Linked DNA regions of Homo sapiens: region 2 is linked to region 1. Evidence: promoter capture Hi-C in 16 types of primary human blood cells and fetal thymus (Javierre and others, 2016). All regions are on one chromosome and are shown on one strand. The core of a region is centred on a gene start or on the middle of the fragment in contact, and the rest is flanking DNA. Distances in the headings are between cores, read along the strand shown.

What was found. Contacts are between HindIII fragments. The CHiCAGO score rates a contact against its expected background, and 5 or more counts as called.
Region 2: a contact is called between a fragment that was not itself captured here and the fragment with the promoter of EXOC3L1 in region 1, in 1 of 17 cell types (total CD4 T cells). The highest score is 5.1, in total CD4 T cells.

What each region holds. Positions count from the first base shown.
Region 1 is chr16:67,187,159-67,192,892 of GRCh38, forward strand. EXOC3L1 (exocyst complex component 3 like 1) reads right to left here and starts at 2,978. Exons shown (of 14, transcript NM_178516.4): 1 at 2,813-2,978; 2 at 2,473-2,525; 3 at 1,862-2,022; 4 at 1,563-1,782; 5 at 67-679. The coding sequence starts at 2,518. It overlaps E2F4 (E2F transcription factor 4), which reads left to right and starts at 4,997. Exons shown (of 10, transcript NM_001950.4): 1 at 4,997-5,204; 2 at 5,603-5,712. The coding sequence starts at 5,070. RefSeq lists enhancers at 4,720-5,650, 4,819-4,958 and a silencer at 5,049-5,238. The HindIII fragment of the contact is 15,341 bases long and covers 1-5,734 here.
Region 2 is chr16:67,040,945-67,046,678 of GRCh38, forward strand. All of the region lies in intron 3 of CBFB (core-binding factor subunit beta), which reads left to right. Among named protein-coding and RNA genes, the nearest start is that of CBFB, 15 kb to the left of the region's middle. The HindIII fragment of the contact is 688 bases long and covers 3,241-3,928 here.

The DNA of each region.
Region 1 (5,734 bases), core at 1,728-4,227:
GTCACACCAAGCCACCAAGCCCCCAGCCTCTGATCCCCCATGTCCCGCTGCCCCAAAGGCACTGACCCCAGGTACACATGCAGTGCCCAGTGCAGCAAGGCGAAGGCATCCGCAGCTTCTAGCTCAGGCCCTGCAAGGAGGTTCTGCAGGCTGCGGCGCAAACCACTATGCAGCGTGTGGGCCCATAGCTGGACCACGTTGTACTGTGGCGGGCAGCAAGGCGCTACTAGTGCCTCAGCTGTGGCCAACTCGACTGGCAGGGCCACTCGCAGAGCCTCCAGCCACCCTGGTAGGGCCCCTGGTGCAGGCAGCAGAGGTGACCCAAAGTGGGCCTGCTCCAGGCCCTCCTGTAGTGCCCTCAGACAGCGCTGACGCCAGTCCCGGGGGACCTGGCCCAGGGGGGTTGTTCGTCCAGTCTCCACCTCCGCCACACGCACAGCAGCCACCAACAGGGCTGGGTCCTCCCGTGCCAGCTTCCCTGCGGCCCCTGCAGCTGCTTCCACAGCCTGGCCCAGTGCCTCGAACAGAAGGTCCAGCCCCTGGAAGACTGGCAACTCCAGGCCCCCCAGGGGTGCCCACGTATCCTCTCGCAGCTGCTCCAGCTCCCGAAGGCTCACATATGCCTCCAAGAACTGTTGGCCATCAATCAGAGTCTGTGTGTGGGACACTGCAGCCGGCACTAATGAGAGTGAAAAGGAGACGGCCCTGGGTCTCAGCCTTCCCACCGCCTCAATGTGTACAGCAGGGGATACTGAGGCCCAGGGCGGGGGTGATGCATAAAATATTTAACAACCAGTAGAGTAAGCTGGGCACAGTGGCTCATGCCTGTAATCCCAGCACTTCGGGAGGCCAACGTGGGTGAATCACTTGAGGTCAGGAGTTTGAGACCAGCCCGGCCAACATGGTGAAATCCCATCTCTACTAAAAATACAAAAATTAGCCAGGCATGGTGGCACATGCCTGTAATCCCAGCTACTGGGGAGGCTGAGGCAGGAGGATTGCTTGAACCTGGGATATGGAGGTTGCAGTGAGCCGAGATCACACCACTGCACTCCAGCCTGGGTGACAGAGTGAGACTCTGTTTCAAAAACAAAACAAAACAAAAAATGAACAAAAAACCATAAATAAATAAATAAATAACCAGTAGAGTACTGGCCAATCTAAGAGGATCTTGGCAATGTCCTAAAGACCTGGTGGGCCAGAGGTCAACCCATGAACTCATGGAATATGAGGAAGCTGAGGATCCTGGAGGGAAGGCAGGGGAAATCGGGGGGTCCTGCCAGTACTCGCTCAGCCACTCTGTTAGGGAAGAGTTTGAATATACTGATAACCAGGTGGCCAGAGTCACATGACTGGGTGTCTGTCCTGACTCAAGCATCCCACACGTGGGAATCCCAGGATGAGCTGCCTCATAGGCCATGGGAAGCCCGGGCTACTGTCTGGGAGGTCCCTGGTGTGCTGCTCTATGCAGTTCCCCATCTAGTGCCCCAGCCCCTTGATTAGGGATGGGTGTTTGTGGACTGACTATTGGAGGCTGAGGCCCAGGGTCCCTGCATGCTCACCTGCCCGCAGCCGAGGCAGCAGGTGAGACAGGGCCTGCAGTTGCTTGTGCTGGGCAACCCGCTCCCGTAGGGGCTCTAGAGTCTGTAAGGCCTGGGACATGCCCTGGAGCAACCCACGGGCCTGGCTCAGGGCCTCCCGGGTTCCCTGCACCACCTCAATGGCCTGGGCCAGCTGCCACACACCAGTCTGCACGCCTTCCAGGTATGACTGCATCACTGACTGTGGAAAGATGGAGCCATGAGGCTGGGCCAGCCCTGCAGCACAGTCCCAGCACCCGCACCCCCTGCCCCATGCCCACCTTGAGGCGCGATTCCAGGGAGCAGGTACGCTGCACCTCGCGGCTGCGGTACTGGCCTAGCCTGGCCAGCTGCTCCGGCCGGTAGAAGATGCCTGAGGCCCACTTGAGCGCTGCACCCCGGGCCAGCTGCTCTGCCCGCTCCTGCTCTGGCCACTCAGGTCCTGGGAAGGAAGAGCCTGGGCAGCCGTGTAGTCAGGGAGGAGGGCCCAACGACCCCAGTCCCAGCTTTCTTATTTATTTATTTATTTATTTATTTGTTTGTTTATTTGTTTATTGAGATGGAGTCTCGCTCTGTTGCCCAGGCTGGAGTGCAGTGGTGCAATCTCGGGTCCCTGTAACCTCCGCCTCCCGGGTTCAAGCGATTCTCCTGCCTCAGTCTCCCGAGGAGCTGGGATTACAGGCGCGTGCCATCACGCCCAGCTAGTTTTTGTATTTTTAGTAGAGACGGGGTTTCACTATGTTGGCCAGGTTGGTTTGGAGCTCCTGACCTCAGGTCATCTGCCCATCTTGACCTCCCAAAGTGTTGGGATTACAGGCGTGAGCCACTGCGCCCAGCCAGTCCCATCTTTGTTGCCATCATTCCTCCCCTAGTCCACCCAAAAGGTTCATACCAGGGGACAACGCCGGCTGCATCTCATCCTTGGCTGCTGAGTCCATTGTGGGCCTGGAGGAGCCAGAGCTGAGGTGGGCCCGGGGCAAGCAGGCAGAGTAGATGCCCCTGTGAGCTGCTGCCTCTGTCTAAGCCCTTCTGAGAGGAGGAAGGAGGTTCTTCCCGGCCCCCTCGGGAAGTGAGAGGGAGCGGGTGTGATGCGGAGGGCACCTGGGAGGCTTTGCCTGCTAGGTTTCCCAGTCGTGCCCCTGCAGATGTCAAGCGAGACAGAGTGGGCACAGGCCTCCACTGGACCCTGGTCCTGCTCTGAGCTGCACAGGACAGTTTGGTACAGAACTTACCAGATTTGATCAGGCGTCCAGTTCTCCCTCCAAAAATGACCTTGGCCTTGAGAACAGCCCTCTCCCCAATGCAGCTGGGCACGCCTGCCACTTGCTCACAGGGCCTGGGCAACTCCAGCTGACTCCAGCGTGCAGCTGAATTCCTCTCCCCAAGGAAGTCTCTCTCCCACTCCCCACCCAGAAGCCCCTTCTTCCCACCGAGGCTCCTCCCTCCCCAAGGCCATCAACAGAAAGGAAGGAAGCTGAGTCTCTGGCATTTTATTCCCAACAGGAAAGAGTGTCTGCACAGAGGGTGGGGACAGCTGGGCGACACTTCCCTGAGGGGCGGGGGGGTGGGGTGTACTTGTACTCAACCAGTCTTGACCAGCCTACCCAGAACCTCTTAGTGCTCAGGAGAGGAGATAGGGATTTGCTAGACTTGGCCTCAACCTGGGGTGGTGGGCAGAGTGTGCAGATATGGATGCAGACGACATCAACAGCACAGGATGAAAACTGTGTTGGCCAGCCTCTGAGGAGGATGTGTACCTCTGCGGAGGAGTGAGAGGTGGCAGGCTCTTGTGAAGAGGGGTGTGGTGGGGGGTGGTAGGAGAGGGTCATGAAAGCTGTGTTTATCTTTTTTGTTTTAGACAGGGTCTTGATCTGTCACCAAGGCTGGAGTACAGTGGCACCACCATAGCTCACTGCAGCCTTCTGGGCTCAAGCGATCTGCCTGCCTCAGCCTCCCAAAGTGTTGGGAGATTACAGGCGTGAGTCACCGCAACTGGGCAGCTGTGTTTATCTTGAGAGTTATAGGGAGCCAGGGAAGGGACTATAAGGTGGTAATTATTTAGTGGATGTTCAGTCCACCACCCAAATCCACCCTTCAGGACAGAAGTGCTCATTCTCCAGCTGCCAGGAGTGTAGGCTACTGAGATCACACCACTGAGTCTCTCAGTCAATATTGGGGTGCAAAAGCATGGTACCATCGTGTGAACATGAACCCTTCAGAAGTGCTACCCCAATTTCAGAGATCCTAGTGGGATAGGCTGAGGCCTATAATATAATTGCATCTGCTCAATTCTGCTTGTCTTAATCCCTTAAAGGTGTGGATCCTGACCAGGTGCGGTGGCTCACACCGGTCATCCCAGCATTCTGGGAGGCTGAGGTGGGAGGATCTCTTGAGCCCACGAGTTCAAGACTAGCCTGGGCAATATAGTGAGACCCACATCTCTAAAAAACTAAAAATAAATGAGCCGGGCATGGTGGTGCATGCCTGTGGTCCCAGCTACTTGGGAGGCTGAGGTGGGAGAATCGCTTGGGCCCAGGAAGCTGAGACGGCATTGATCTTGCCACTGCACTCCGGCCTGGGCAACAGAGTGAGACCCTGTCTCAAAAAAAAAAAGTGTGGATCCCCAACAAACTTGCTGCAAAACCCTATCTCGAGTCCCATTTCCCAGAGGACCTGATCTAAAAGAAACAATAATAAATAGTAACAATGTTAAAAGTTACAAAATGACCGTATCACACATTCCTGCATGCCAGGAATGACTGAGTGCTTTACTGATATTTACACATAGGTAAACACGTTTGCATTGGCTGAAGTGTTCATAACCCCATAGTCTCTGAGCACTGTACTGTGAGGACAAGACGAGCGAAAGATGAGGCTAGGACCATGGGTGGAACAAGGTGGACAAGGTAGATATAGTTAGTGCTTGCTGTTTGGCAGGAAGTGAGGGATAGGAATAGATGGGGTGACCCCAAGACAGTAGGGCAGCCTTTAGGAACAGGTTTGATGTGGCAGTAAAATGAGTTTGAAATATATAAAAGAATAAATAAAGAGAAAAAAATGGAAAAGGAACAGGTTTGAGGGAGCAGATTGGATTAGTCAGGTAGTGTGGTCTCCTCTCCCAAGATGGGGACTAGGCAGAGTTAGTGATGTTGGGGCAGATTGGCAAGGAAAGTTCCGATGGCGTCCCCTTCTCTACTGCCAGGGCGGCCCACTGACGCCCTTCTCATTCCTCCCCAACTTCATCCCAACTCCCCGGTCTACCCAGGTAGTTTTCGTCTTATTCGGAGGCTGGACATTTGCTACTGGTCCCTGAAGTTTTGCGGCTGCACCCACAGACAGCAATAGCGCCACGTTCCCTGGAAGGCGCACGGGACGGAAGCGGAAGCAGTAACGCTGGCTCCGGCTGCCCGGCGGCCAGGAACGGAAGCGGAAGTGGCGGCGGCGCCGGCCTGGCCTGGCCTGGCTGAGGGGAGGCGGCGGGCGGGCGCGATGGCGGAGGCCGGGCCACAGGCGCCGCCGCCCCCGGGCACTCCAAGCCGGCACGAAAAGAGCCTGGGACTGCTCACCACCAAGTTCGTGTCCCTTCTGCAGGAGGCCAAGGACGGCGTGCTTGACCTCAAGCTGGTGCGGCCTGGGCTAAGGGGAGACAAGGGAGGCTGGTGGACCAGGCCTGGGCCGGTAGCGGGAACCCCGGGGGCGGCCCAGCTGGGTCCTCCGAGAGCCGGCCGCCATCGTGTGCTTTCTCACAGGAGAGAAGCCGGGGGATGTTTCATTCATTCGGCCGAGGCCATCGAGCTACAGCTATGGGCCAGGCTCGGGCTGCAGGTGTTCGTCCTCGTGGCCCTTCCTGGCTGGCGAGGAGAAGAGCTGCCTATGGGACAGAGCTGCGGTCCTGAGCTGCAGTAGCGCCTGGGAGGCACTACAGGGTTGGAATCCAGATTACTCCCTTCCCAGACCACGTCTCAGGGTGGCTGGGGGTACACCCCAGAGTGGGGCTGAGCATTCTCCATTCTCTCTGCCAGGCAGCTGACACCCTAGCTGTACGCCAGAAGCGGCGGATTTACGACATTACCAATGTTTTGGAAGGTATCGGGCTAATCGAGAAAAAGTCCAAGAACAGCATCCAGTGGAAGTGAGTGGGCATAGTGGGAGGG
Region 2 (5,734 bases), core at 2,335-4,834, 150 kb before region 1:
TTGATCAACAGCAAGCAGGCCATTGTGGCTGGAGTAGACTGTGAAAGAAGTTGTAGTAGATGAAATCAGAAATAACAATGAGCCAGTTCATGTGACCATGGTAGGCCATTGTAACCACATGGGCTTTTTATTCTGAGTGAGATGGGGAATAGTTTTGAGTGTTTAGTTTGCTTATATTTTAGGGACAGGGTCTTGGTATGTTGCCCAGGGTGACTCAAACTCCTGGACTCAAGTTATGCTCTTGGTCAGCTTCCGAAGTAGCTGGGAGTAAAGGCATGCTCCTGCACCTAGCTCAGGCTTTTGAGCAGATGAATGATATTATCTACGTTAGGTTTTGACAGACTCATGCTAGCTGCTAGGTTAATAATAGGTTATAGGGGGCAAAAGTGAAGCAGGCTATTGCAGTAATCTTGGTGAGAGACCAGGGTGGTAGCAGTAGAGGTAGTGAGAAATGGTCATATCCTGGATGTATTTTGAGATAGAGCCAATAGGATTTGCTTATGGATTAGATATGGCGTGTGAGAAAGAGAAGAATAAAGAATGACTCTAACTTAGGCTGAGGCAGGAGAATTGCTTGAACCCGGGAAGGGGAGGTTGCAGTGAGCTGAGATCGTGCCACTGCACTCCAGCCTGGGCAACAAGAGTGAAACTCCATCTCAAAAAAAAAAGAATGACTCCAACTTTTTGGCTAGAGAAACTGGGACTATGGGGTTACTGTCATCGGGATGGGAAAACTGGCTGGAACAATTTTGAACAGCAGGTTAGGTTGGTTTAGCGCATGTGAGGTTGTGGTGGGAGCTTGTTATTGCAGCTTGTTTCTTTACTTTTTTTTTTTTTTTTTTTTTTAAGAGAGAGGGTCTCACTCTGTCACCCAGGCTGGAGTGCAGTGGTGCAATCATAGTTCACTGTAACCTCAAACCTCAAACTCCTAGGCTCAAGAGATCCTCCTGCCCTTCTTTTTTTTTTTTTTTTTACCCCTGACAAAACAAGGTCTTATTCTGTTGCCAGGCTGGAGTACAGTGGCGCCGTCATGGCTCACTGCAGCCTCAATGTCCCAAGCTCAGGTGATCTTCCCACCTCAGCCTCCTGTGTAGCTGGGACCACAGCATCTCACCTGTAACCCCAGCACCACCATGCCTGAAGTTATTTTTGTATTTTTTGTGGAGATGGGGTTCTGTTATATTGCCTAGGTTGGTCTCGACCTCCTGACCTCAAGTGATCCTCCTGCCTTGGCCTCCCAAAGTGCTGGGATTACAGGCATGAGCCACCACGCCCAGGCTTTTTAAAAAATCATTTGTTTCTAAGTGTTTCATTATTTTTTCTGCCTCTGTCTCTTGACTGACTAGGACGACAGATATTTGCCACCACATCTGGCTAATTTTAAATTTTTTTGAAGAGAAAAAAATTTTGCTCAGGCTGGCCTCTAACTCCTGGCCTTAAGCAATCCTCCCACCTTGGCCTCCCAAAGTACTGGAATTACAGGCATGGGACACTGCATCCAGCCTGAGTTTTAACAAATGTATGCACCCATGTAGATGCTACCACAGTCAAGATATATTTCAGTCACCCCCCCAAAGGTTTCCTTGTGCCCCTTTGCAGGAACCTGGGACTGACTGCACTGGGTGGTTCTGCCTCAGTGTCTCTCATGAGGTTGCAGTCAAGCTTTTGCCTGGGACTGTGCAGTCTCTGAAGACTTGACTAGAACTGAAGGATCTGCCTGTTGGTAGGTGGCTTCACTTCCTAGTCATGCTTCTCCATAGAGAGAAAAAGAGTGAAGCCACCATGCCTTTTATTTATTTATTTATTTATTTGAGACGGGGTCTTGCTCTGTCATCCAGGCTGGAGTGCAGTGGCGTAATCTCAGCTCTACAACCTCTGCCTGCCGGGTTCAAGCAATTCTCCTTCCTCAGCCTCTCAAGTAGCTGGGATTACAGGCACATGCCACCACATGTGGCTAATTTTTGTACTTTTAGTAGAGACAGGGTTTCACCATGTTGGCCAGGCTGGTCTCAAACTCCTAACATCAGGTGATCTGCCTGCCTCAGCCTCCCAAAGTGCTGGGATTACAGGTGTGAGCCACTGCGCCTGGTCCACCATGCCTTTTATGATCCATTCTTCAAGTCACTTTCATACCTTTTATGATCTATTATTTGAGTCACTTGTTGCTTAGCCTGTTCATTAGAAGCTGGTCACTAAGTCTAGCCCACATTCAACAGGGAGGGAGGGATTACACAGGGGTGTGAATACCAGGAGGCTGGGATCATTGAGGCCATCTTGGAGGCCAGCTACAATAATACTCACTTAAATTTAGCGAACTCAGAAAAAATTAGAATCCTAATAGAGCGGAAACAAAAAGCTCTATATTCTCTATTATTTGAAATACAGTTTTATGATTTAAGAAAATGGGCTCATAGAAATTAGTCCTTTTATTCATTCTGTTGCTTATGTGGCTATAGAATATTTTCAAATCAAGGGCTTCTATAAGGAAGGTCTGTTAACGGGTGACTGATTATAAGTATATACCTTACATATGACCAAGTCAGAGCACAGAATTTTATAATCCTTCAAATATATTTGAAACTTTTATACCCAGGTACCTGGTGAGCTGTCTACATTGGCTCTTAATAAGGATCTTTCTCAGAAATGATTTAAACTAATAACAGTATAATAGAAAGAGCTCTAGATTTGAGTCAAGACAGTCATAACTATTTTCCTTAACATGTAAATGAGGATCAGAATGTCTGCCCTATTCATGTGCCTCATGTGAGAATTAAATGTAGTACCAGAATATGTGAAAATGCCTTTTAAATTGTAAACCCCTGTCTACAGTTAGGCAATTTGATGGTTCTGTAGGGTGAGATTATAGCTAACTGATTGATAGAGTGTTTGTGCTACAGTGTGCCTTAGGTAAGCTTCACGTCAGGTAGTTGAACAATGTTGGAACACTACATCTTTCCCAAGTGTTCCATCCTGGTGTGTTACAAACACTGGCAGCCAAAATGTTCTTAATTCTTTAATCTAGCTGTCAAAAGACAAGGGAAAAGCAACTAATCAGAATTTAAATCATTCTTAAGTTAAAATTGTGTAGACCAGGCAACTCCAGTTCCTTTGATCTTTCCTCTTAGGACTTATTTCCAATTACTTTTATTTCAAATAAATGCAAGTGATTATGGTTGACCATAAATTATTAGTCTTGAGTGGTCAGATTAATGGTTTTTACATGTATTCTGTGTCTCATAAAGCTTCATTGGGATTTTGAAATAATGATTGGATGTACTTACTTTGCGATCCCAGTTTATGACTTTAAAGATAAGGGGTATGAAAATCATTTCATAAAAGGAAAAAAATGAACTTTACAGTGCTACTGTTCATTTTTTTCTGTGGAAATTGAATATGCTATCTCGTTTTTACCACATTGACCTCAGAAAAAGAGAGGTTAAACTTTTCTATGGTTGTTACATTCTTGTTTATAGCTTATGATTTTAATTGATAGTCAAATACATTAATGTCAGACATCGAGAAGTATTTATTAAGTATATGTCATTAGAGTAGCTACTTTTAAAAATTTTGATAAGTTGTATTTTTTTTCTTTCTGGACTTTATACTTAAAAGTCTTTTAATTTATTTTTATGAGCATAAAATAAAGCAAAATCTAACAAGATTGGATTTAATGAGTGAGGACAGAATTTTATTTTAAATGGCCTTTTCTAATAAAGGTCTATGATTCTGCTTCTTCTGGTACCATTTACGCACTTGCCTGCAGGATCTTTGTCCCAAAATACATATTGTGTTTGTTTATATACCATCCACAATTTGGCAGAGTTTACAGGACTTCTTGATGTTAGCTTTGAGAAATCCCTATTTAAGCTCAAGAAGTTCCTTCTCTGTAGATAGCCCAGTCATTCCAAATAAAAGATCTCTATGGTAAAGCTTTGGAGTGTGATTTTCTTCAAGAGAAATTAGACAACTTTACAAATACCTTGTCACATCTGGATTTTAAGTATTTCAGTTCGACTAAAATATGAATTGACAGCACTTAGTTATTGACAGTTTAGTGTATTGAAATCTGGTTTTTAAAAATATGCTTTAGATAAACTATAATACTCTAATAATAACGGAATCATAAAATTTAGAACTGGTAACTGCAAGCTTATATATATATATATATTTGACACCTTTGTAGCTGGCAGAGCGTTTGTATTTTTAAAGAAAAGTTTTTATTTTAGTTATTTTAGTTATTTTTCAATCTAAGAGAGGAAGTCGACTTTCTGAAAAAATTAAAATGTTTTGGCTAGGTGGGGTGGTTCATGCCTGTAATCCCAGCACTTTGGGAGGCCGAGGCAGGTGGATCACCTGAGGTCAGGAGTTCGAGACCAGACTGGCCAACGTGATGAAACCCCACCTCTACTAAAAATACAAAAAATTAGCCAGGTATGCTGGCATGTGCCTGTAATCCCAGCTACTTGGGAGACTGAGGCAGGAGAATTGCTTGAACCCGGGAGGCGGAGGTTGCAGTGGGCTGAGATTGTACCACAACACTCCAGCCTGGGCAACAGAGCAAGACTCTGTCTGAAAAAAAAAAAATTAAAATGTTTTAAAATTAGTATGTCATAGTACCTTCCAGTTAGAGTACGTGAATCTGCATACATGGTAAATGCACCTCTGAAGCACTTGAAGATTGTGAAGTCCCGTTTTCTCTTCTTTTGGATTGCATTATTTCCATTTTAGTGTAAAGGTGAAATTCTCTTTCATGACCTTTCCTGAATTACATATTCCAAGTGAGAGAAGGCAGAAATAATATGTCTGAGAAGAGCATCCTTCACTCTTCCCCTCCTTCCTTCTACTTTCTACATTTTTTTTTTTTTTTTTGAGACAGTGTCTTGCTCTGTCATCCAGGCTGGAGTGCAGTGATGTAATCTTGGCTCACTGCAACCTCCGCCTCCCAGGTTCAAGCGATTCTCCTGCCTCAGCCTCCCAAGTAGCTGGGATTACAGGCACCCGCCACCACACCTGGCTAATTTTTGTGTTTTTATTGGAGATGGGGTTTCACCATTTTGGCCAGGCTGGTCTCAAACTCCTGACCTCAGGTGATCCGCCTGTCTTGGCCTCCCAAAGTGTTGGGATTATAGGCGCTCTGAGCCACTGTGCCTGGCCTTTTTTGTTGTTGTTTGTTTGTTTTTGAAACTAGATATCTCTCTGTCACCCAGGCTGGAGTGCAGTGGTGTGATCTTGGCTTACTGCAACCTCTGCCTCCTGGGCTCAAGCGATCCTCCCACCTCAGCCTCCCAAGTAGCTGGAACCACAGGCACGCGCCACCATGCCCAGGTAATTTTTTTGTAGATATGGGGGTCTCACCATGTTGCCCAGGCTGGTCTCAAACTCCTGGACTCAAGCAATCCTCTCGCCTTGGCCTCTCAAAGTGCTGGGATTACAGGCATGTACCCATCATTTTTTTTTAATGGTTAATTCAAATGCTGCCAGGATAAAGACTATTGAAATGTTGTTGTCTGAAGATGTTAATTTCTTTGTAGCACTGCTATGCCCTAGTTTTACTATTTCCCATTTTCACTTGTAGTTTTTCAATCAGCATTATTGAGGTATAATTTACATGTAGTACAGTTCACCTATTTTAAGTGTACAAGTCTGTGACAACTGTGTATTCAGTAGTATAACCACCACCAAAGTTCACCATTGCTTCAAAAAGTTCCCTCATGCCCCCTTGCAGGTAGTGTTC